Regions from separate parts of the Homo sapiens genome. Here all the other regions are linked to region 1. The links are contacts of gene promoters, found by promoter capture Hi-C in blood cells and fetal thymus (Javierre and others, 2016). All regions are on one chromosome and are shown on one strand. Each heading gives the region's core, a stretch centred on a gene start or on the middle of the fragment in contact. The rest is flanking DNA. Distances are from core to core; before and after follow the strand shown.

Region 1 (2,783 bases), core at 110-2,609:
GTTCCACAGTACTCCTCTCCTAAGTACACTTCCATATTTCTTGCTGAACTTAAAATGCCAATAGAAGCGATTTCTTCACCTCCATCAGGGCCACACCTCAGGTAAAGGAAGCAGGGGTTTTCATCTTTGTTGTTGTGGTTTCTCTTCAAAATCACCAGATCCTGACTGAGAAGAAAATTGGTGAAAACATCACACAGTATAGTTCTCTGAACATGACTCTTCTTTTTTGAGACGGAGTCTGGCTCTGTCGCCCAGGCTGGAATGCAGTGGCTCCATCTCGGCTCACTGCACGCTCCGCCTTCCGGGTTCACGCCATTCTCCTGCCTCAGCCTCCCAAGCAGCTGGGACTACAGGCACCCGCCACCGCGCCCGGCTAATTTTTTGTATTTTTCGTAGAGACGGGGTTTCGCCGTGTTAGCCAGGATGGTCTTGATCTCCTGACGTCGTGATCCGCCCGCCTCGGCCTCCCAAAGTGCTGGGATTACAGGTGTGAGCCACCGTGCCCGGCCGGGGCTTCTTTCTTCTAACTCACTTCCACTTGCCCTTGAGGTCCAAGCACCTTCCCAAGCATCCAAGAAGCGCTCAACACAGAATTCATACGGAAATGAAGGTGTCACACATCAGGGCTTTCCCAAACTCTATTTTTTCCTCAATCAACATTCTACTCAATCCCCTGCAATTGACTCTCGGATAATTACATAAATCACTGGGCACCTACTGGGTGCAGGGCACAATGAAAGACAAAAGTGTATCTTTTTCGAAATTAAGTCGACAGCGATCATCTATAGCTGGACTTTTTACACAGCCTGTTTTGGTGGACAGGAGGTGTCTTGTTTGAGGGTAGAGGGGCGGACTGACTTTGACAGCAGCCCTGAGGGGCTATCACGCCTGATGGGGACGTTATATGAAATTCCGAGTCCGGGTCACCTTCCCCCTCTCACGCCCAGGAGCCTCGGCCCCTTCCCGGCCGGACCCACCCCCCTCCGCCCACCCCGGACGACCTCGCAGCTCCCCTCCCCAACTAGAGACCTGGTACCAACTGCTCTCCCGGATCCCGGGCTCAGACCCTCTCGCCTCCCCTCACAGCTCCCCTAGAAGCGCGGCAGTTGCCGAGCATAGCGACCCCGTCCCCGTCGGCCCGGCGCACCCTGGAGCAGGCGGTGCCAGCAGCTCCTCCCAGTCGAAGTCACCGGGGCCGAGACCGGCCCGGGTGAGGAGGAGGCTGTGGGTCAGGGCCCCGCCTGCAACATCCCAAGAAGAGGCCAGCGTGGGGCGGCGGGTGAGGCCCCCGTCCTCGGTCCGCGTCTCCATTCCGCCGCCTTCAGTCAGGCCAGCCCAGCCCCGGAACCTCTCTTCCAGTGCTTGAATTTCCGCCGGTACAGCGTGGAAATGGGCAGGCAAAGCGACTTCCGGCTCACTCCGCTTCAAGTACCCGCCGCTTCTTGCTTTGGTGGGGAGAGCAGGCACCAGAGACACGCATGCGCATGTGCCAGCTGGCCTCAGGCGCGGCGTTCAAAGTGTGCGGGGAGGAGGTCGAGAGCGGAGCATGCGCACTGGCAGACCCTTGCTCTTTCGCTGGAGACTATGCGCAGGCGCGGTGCACTGCGCGCCGGCACGAGGGTGTTTTCGACGTTGGCTGTGGGGAAACAGCAAGCGGCGTGGACGACCGTTGCTGAGCTGGTGTGGAACGTCTGTGATCAGGTAGGTGTAGTCTCGTCGCTCTACGCTGCGTGCAAGACCGACTCCTGACCTCGTTCTTTCCCAAGGGGACGCCAGGGCCTTTTCTGCTTCCATTCCGTCGGATCTGCAGCATTTGTGGCAGCTAGCGCGGCGGACGCGCTGCCGATTCGGGTTATTTTTACTTCGAATTCTCCTAGCCTCCCTCACACATATTCTCGCTTTAGAGGGGGGCTGAAGCGGATGATGGGGTTTTGGGGTTGAAGGGCATCTGTGATGGGCATTGAGCCACGCTGGCCTTCGCCGGGTGCTGTCTCAGCTGACGCCCCCTGACCCCATGTGCAACCCTCAGGCCGCAGGAACCCGGGCATCCAGGGCTGGACGCTCTAGGTGACAGAAATTTGAAATGCAAGAAAGACCCAGACACCGAAGGCAGGGGCTGCCCCATGAGATCGCTCCTCATGGCACTGGAAACAGCGAGTGGAAAGGGGGGGTCTCAGAACTCTGTTGAAGTAGAATATGAACTCAGTCTTGAAGGAACTTAAGGCTACGGATGCAGAACAGTGGGAGCAGATGGAACTTTCTAGATGCCCCACGGGATGGGACTGTATATAGTGTGCCCCCTCATCCTCCTCCTGTAGAGGCTTGTGCAGATTATTTTTCTGTCTTTTGAAAAAAGCAAACTCTGAAATTCCACTTGTCTATAATCTAGAGTTCCAAAGTTGTGTTTAAGGTGGTATCCTCTCTAGGAAATAACGTTTTTGCTCACCCATACTCTAATTTTCTTTCAGAGCTGTCTATTCTGGGTTCATGACTCAGTGCGCATTACTTTAATCTTTTTGCTTATGTTTTCGTTTGAGTTTATGTACTAGGACTTGTGCCCTCTAGCTAAAAATGAGAATAAACTTTGCATTCTGTTTACCTGTGTCAAAGCAAGAAAAATGATGACCAAATGTATTTTTCTATAAGTAATCACCAGAATGTACGTATGGTAGGTGAATTCACCAAGATTGAAAGAGAGAAATGTCACCAAAGGTCTATCATAGCAGAATTGTAAAGTCCTCGTTTGCAAAGATTTTTTTAATATTTCAGACTCATTCTAAGTT
Region 2 (2,783 bases), core at 87-2,586, 2.0 Mb after region 1:
GGCTTTTTAAAAAAATTTTTTGTAGAGACAAGATCTCTCTATATTGCCCCCAGGCTGGTCTTGAATTCCTGGGCTCAACCAATCCTCTTGCCTTGGCCTCCCAAAGTGCTGGGATTATTGGCATGAACCCCTGAGCCCAAATTATATATATATGTAAAATATATATATATATATGTAAAATATATATATATATGTAAAATATATATATATATGTAAAATATATGTATATATATATTTTTTTTTTAATAGGGTCTCACTGTGTTGCCCAGGCTGGAGTGTATGGCATGATCACAACTCACTGCAGCCTTGACTTCCCAGGCTCAAGCTATCCTCTCACTTCAGCCTCCCCAGTAGCTGAGACTACAGATGCGTGCCACCACACCTGGCTAATTTTTTTTTTTTTTTTTTAAGATGGAGTCTCTCCCTGTTACCCAGGCTGGAGTACAATGGCACGATCTCAGCTCACTGCAACCTCCACCACCCGGCTTGAAGTGATTCTCCTGCCTCAGCCTTCTGAGTAGCTGGGATTACAGGCACGTGCCACCATGCCCAGCTCATTTTTTTGTATCTTTTAGTAGAGATGGGGTGTCACCGTGTTGGCCCGGCTGGTCTCGAACTGACCTCGTGATCTGCCCGCCTCTGCCTCCCAAAGTGCTGGGATTACAGGCGTGAGCCACTGTGCCCAGCCTTGCCTGGCTAATTTTTGTATTCAGCCGTGGTAAGCCACTGCGCCTGGCCCTAAATTTTTTAGTAATGAAAAAAATAAACTACTACCCAGGCGTGGTGTCATGTGGCTGTAGTCCCAGCTACATGGGAGGCTCAGGTGGGAGGATCGCTTGATCCCAGGAATTCGAGTCCAGTCTGGGTGTATTAGTTTGTTTTCACATTGCTATAAAGAACTATCAGCCGGGCGCAGTGGCTCACTCCTGTGATCCCAGCACATTAGGAGGCCTAGGCGGGTAGATCACAAGGTCAGGAGTTCAAGACCATCCTGGCCAACATGGTGAAACCTCGTCTCTACTAAAAACACAAAAATTGGCTGGGCATGGTGGTGCACACCTGTAGTCTCAGTTACTCGGGAGGCTGAGGCAGGAGAATTGCTTGAACCCAGGAGGCAGAGGTTGCAGAGAGCCGAGCTACACTCCAGCCTGGGCGACAGAGCAAGACTCTGTCTCAAAAACAAACAAACAAAAAAAACAAACTAGCTGATGCCAGGTGCTGTGGCTCATACCTGTAATCCCAGCACTTTGGGAGGCCAAGGCAGGTGGATCACGAGATCAGGAGTTCGAGACCAACCTGACCAACATGGTGAAACCGTGTCTCTACTAAAAATTCAAAAAAATTAGCTGGGCGTGGTGGTGCGCACCTGTAATCCCAGCACTTTGGGAGGCCAAGGCAGGAGAATCTTGAACCCAGGAGGTGGAGGTTGCAGTGAGCCGAGATTGTGCCACTGCGCTTCAGCCTGCCTCGGAAGAAAAGAAAAAGAACTACCTGAGATTGGTAATTTATAAAGAAAAGGGGTTTAACTGACTAACAGTTTCTCATGACTGGGGAGGCTTCATGAAACTTATGGTAGAAGGTGAAGAGAAAAAAAGCACCTTCACAAGGCAGGAGAGAGAGAGTGAGCAGGGGAAGTGCCACGCTTTTAAACTATCAGATCTCCTGAGAACTCACTCAGTATCTCAAGAACAGCATAGGGGAAACCGCCCCCATGATCCGGTCACTTCCCACCGGGTCCCTCCCTTGACACATGGGGATTACAGTTGGCAATGAGATTTGGGTGGGGACACAGAGCCAAACCATATAACTGGGCAAAGTAGCAAGACCCTATCTCTTACCAAAAAAAAAGAATTTTTGTTATTTTTATTGTTCATATATTGAGGGCAAACTGTCCCTCTCACTCCTGAACTCACACACCGCAGTTTTGGTTTTTCATCCTTTGTCAAGTCAATTTTTAATGTGGGTGGTCTCTTTCTTTTTTTTTTGAGATGGGGTCTTGGTACGTTACTCAGGCTGGTGTCAAACTCCTGAGTTCAAGTGATCTGCCCGCCTTGGCCTCCCAAAGTGCTGGGACTGCAGGCTTGATGAGCCTCCGCACCTGGCCATAATGTGGGTGGTTTTAATTCATATAAATAAAAAATATTTGAATGCGTGATATTAATTGGAATCAGTTGCAAATCTTTCCAGTTTTTTCTAAAAAAAAAAAAAAGCAGCTTCATTGAGGTGTATTTCATATACCATAAAATTCACCCCTTTAAAGTATACAATTCAGTAGTTTTTAGTATACTTAACAGAGTTGTACAGCCATTACCAACCACTATATAATCCTGGAACATTTTCATGACCCCAAAAAGAAACTCTGTACTCATTAAGGAGTCATTTCCGCCTTGCCTCAGCTCCTGGCAACCACTAATCTACTTTGTCTCTCTAGATTTGCCTATTCTGGATATGTCGTAAATGGAATTGTACAATATATGACCGTTTATGTGGCTTTTTTCTCTTATAATACTTCCAAGGTTTATGTTGTGGCATGTGTCAGTACTTCATTCCTTTTTGTGGCTGGCTGATACTCCATTGTATAAACAGCATTTTGTTTATCCATTCATTGATTGATGGGCATTTGGATTTTTTCCACTTTTTGGCTATTATACTGCTGTGAACATTTGTGTACAAGTTTTTGTTCAGATGTAAGTTTTTACTTCTCTTGGGTATATACCTACAGATGGAATTGCTGGGTCATGTGCTAATTATGTTTAACCTTTGAGGAACTTTCTGCCTGTTTT
Region 3 (2,783 bases), core at 184-2,683, 1.5 Mb after region 1:
TCCAGATCCAGCAAGCCACCTTCCCTCTGTGCATAGAGTTGATTTTTTTTTTTTCAGCCTGGGCATTAAAATTCCGCCTGAGTGCTATCTTTAAATTGCTTTGATGCTAGGTGGGTTCCAACCCTGACCTGTCCTGATAGCAAGTGATGCCTGTAACAAGCTCGGGATCAATATTCATAGCGGGTGTCCTGGGCTGATAACACTATCCAAGACAATGTTCACTATCCGTGCAGACAGCTGAGATATTGCACCATTAGGGATGTTGTGTTAAATAACCTGATCCATTTCTGGGGCTATTTAATGAATTTCACAGTTTAGATAGTATCTTTAAGGAGAAGGCAAAGGCTATTCCGGAGGCACTGATGCAAATCAATGGTGCCAAGCTTCCTAAGGTATTCCACAAACAAAGGTGCCTATAATTCCAGCACAGCCTTGAAGAGCCGCTGAGTGCCATGAATAGTGTTAACAATGGAAAGAATTTGCAGTTTATGCAGAGGGAGTGGGGGGGAGGGGGCAATATTATGAGCCGTGTTAAAGCATTTTAGATAAAATCTTATGTTCCTAAAGTAAAATGCAACTGAAATTCTCCAGGTAAAACCCTGCGTTTTGAGCCAGCCCCCAGGGTAGGATATATGTGCCAAAGAGACAGCTTCATAAGACACAGCTTGATGACAAAGAGGGACACCTCAACTGCCAGACAGCCTGTGGGTAACCCCTTTTCCCAGTACCTCAGCCACCTTCCCCAAGATGTGCTTCTTCTACTCAAATTGGTCTGTAATATGGGAGAGGGTAAGCACTAGGTTTTAGAAGGAAGCCACAGATAGCAGAATCCATTGTTTGTTTACTGGACTCTATCTCCCTTGGTGCTGGAGAGGTCATTTACAATTAAAGGCTAGCATTTACCATTTCCCACCAGAGCTTTGAACTCTGGCTGCCAAGCACAGCAAGTATTCCCCCCGGCAAAAAAAAAAAAAAAAAAAAAACACCTCATAGACTAACTTGTGAAAGCTGAGTTGAAAATATAGCCTTCCCACCTGACCCCAAACCAAAGTTAAAAAAAATCAACTCCCTCATCTTAGGGCATGCTCCCTGCCACTGGTGGGTGCTTGAGCTTAATGGGCAAGGAAAATGGAGACGGGTGGCCGCTGAGGACCACATGCTCACAGAAGTTATGGAGATGCAGAGACTCAGCAGGGACATGGAGAGTCAAAAACAAGTGTGCAGGCTGGACGTGGTGGCTTACATCTGTAATCCCAGCACTTTGGGAGGCCGAGGCGGGCAGAACACCTGAAGTCAGCAGTTCAAGACCACCCTGGTCAACATGGCGAAACCCTGTCTCTACTGAAAATACAAAAATTACCCAGGTGTGGTGGCAGGCGCCTGTAATCCCAGCTACTGGGAAGGCTGAGGCAGGAGAATCACTTGAACCTGGGAGGCGGAGGTTGCAGTGAGCCGAGATCACACCATTGCACTCCAGCCTGGGCAACAAGAATGAAACTCCGTCTCAAAAACAAACAAACAAACAACAAAAACAAGTGCAGAGCAGAGCGGAGAAGCCACGAGAGACAGGCAGACAGGTGGGTTCCAGCTGCTGCCACTGTTGCTGACTTCTTCCTGATGCTGGTTGTTCCATTCCGGGTTCCCTGGGAGCCTCACTGCATCCCTACAATACTATTTCTTCTTGAGGGCTTCCCTGACTTACCCCACGCGGACTGGAGCACTCCTTCCCACATTGTTTCTGGGGCACGCTGCCATCATAGCCCTTGATGGACATCTCTTGGTTTTGCCTGATCTGAGGATCCACTCCCCCTTTTCTGGTGTCTGTAGCTGATTTTGATGAGATCCCCCTGGGCCCCCACCCTTGTATGTGGTAGTGATGGGACTGCCAATCAGGCCCCCCAACCTTCTTCTGGCCGGGAGGTAAGAGTGAGCCCCTGCAGTAGAGTCCTACTGGCCTCTCTCCCGGGAGTATCTGAAGCAGAGTGACACCGCTTCATTGTGGCAGTGGTGCCCAAAACTAAATAATCTGTTATTTCCCACTCTTGACGCTGATGGTTCCAGTACTTGCCCAGGTCTGGTTGTTCAGCATTTCCTTTGATTTTGTAAATTGCCTACACTCTTCCCAACCTTCTCTTCCCCTCTGCATTTTGGAATTCAATTAGCCAGAGTCAAGGAACCCTGACAGGCACAGCCTTTATCACACTGCCTGGCATACAGATTCTGGTCCTTGGATTGTCTTAAAGTCAGGGAGGGCAGAGCGTGCATCCCTGTGCCCACCAGTACCTTGGTGTTTGGTAGGTTGAAGAGTCGAAAGCAATAAATGGTGGCCCAGTAACACAAACCCAAAGCTCCACAGTTTGACTAAGATGGATTGGAAACCCATGAGAGACCATATAGGCTGAAGACAAAAATCGGATCAAGAAATATTTAGGTACGGATAGAGGTTCATAAAGGGTCTGACTCCCATGCTGAGCATCTGTGGAACAAGCTTATGTTTTTATTCAGGTCATCCATGCTGGGTACCATGCTTTTCATAAAGAAAAATGCAGGGGCCAGGCACAGTGGTTCACACCTATAATCTCTGCACTTTGGGAGGCTGAGGCGAGAGGATACTTGAGCCCAGGAGTTTGAGGCTGCAGTGAGCTATGAGTCATGCCACTGCACTCCAGTCTGGGTCATAGTACAAGACCCTGTCTCAGAAAGGAAGGAAGGAAGGAAGGAAGAAAGGAAGGAAGGAAGGAAGGGAGGAAGGGAAGGGAACAGAAAATAAAAATGCAGGCGTA

Evidence for each region. Contacts are between HindIII fragments. The CHiCAGO score rates a contact against its expected background, and 5 or more counts as called.
Region 2: a contact is called between a fragment that was not itself captured here and the fragment with the promoter of C10orf88 in region 1, in 2 of 17 cell types (non-activated CD4 T cells and total B cells). The highest score is 6.2, in non-activated CD4 T cells.
Region 3: a contact is called between a fragment that was not itself captured here and the fragment with the promoter of C10orf88 in region 1, in 2 of 17 cell types (fetal thymus and activated CD4 T cells). The highest score is 6.1, in fetal thymus.

What each region holds. Positions count from the first base shown.
Region 1 is chr10:122,952,868-122,955,650 of GRCh38, forward strand. C10orf88 (chromosome 10 open reading frame 88) reads right to left here and starts at 1,360. Exons shown (of 6, transcript NM_024942.4): 1 at 1,148-1,360; 2 at 1-165. The coding sequence starts at 1,311. It overlaps LOC124902519 (a long non-coding RNA gene), which reads left to right and starts at 1,575. Exons shown (of 2, transcript XR_007062325.1): 1 at 1,575-1,701. RefSeq lists a silencer at 1,076-1,155. The HindIII fragment of the contact is 5,860 bases long and covers 1-2,783 here.
Region 2 is chr10:124,922,103-124,924,885 of GRCh38, forward strand. It overlaps a transcript of ZRANB1 not described here. Among named protein-coding and RNA genes, the nearest start is that of ZRANB1, 19 kb to the right of the region's middle. The HindIII fragment of the contact is 5,966 bases long and covers 1-2,783 here.
Region 3 is chr10:124,453,956-124,456,738 of GRCh38, forward strand. No RefSeq gene overlaps it. Among named protein-coding and RNA genes, the nearest start is that of NKX1-2, 5.3 kb to the left of the region's middle. The HindIII fragment of the contact is 2,105 bases long and covers 382-2,486 here.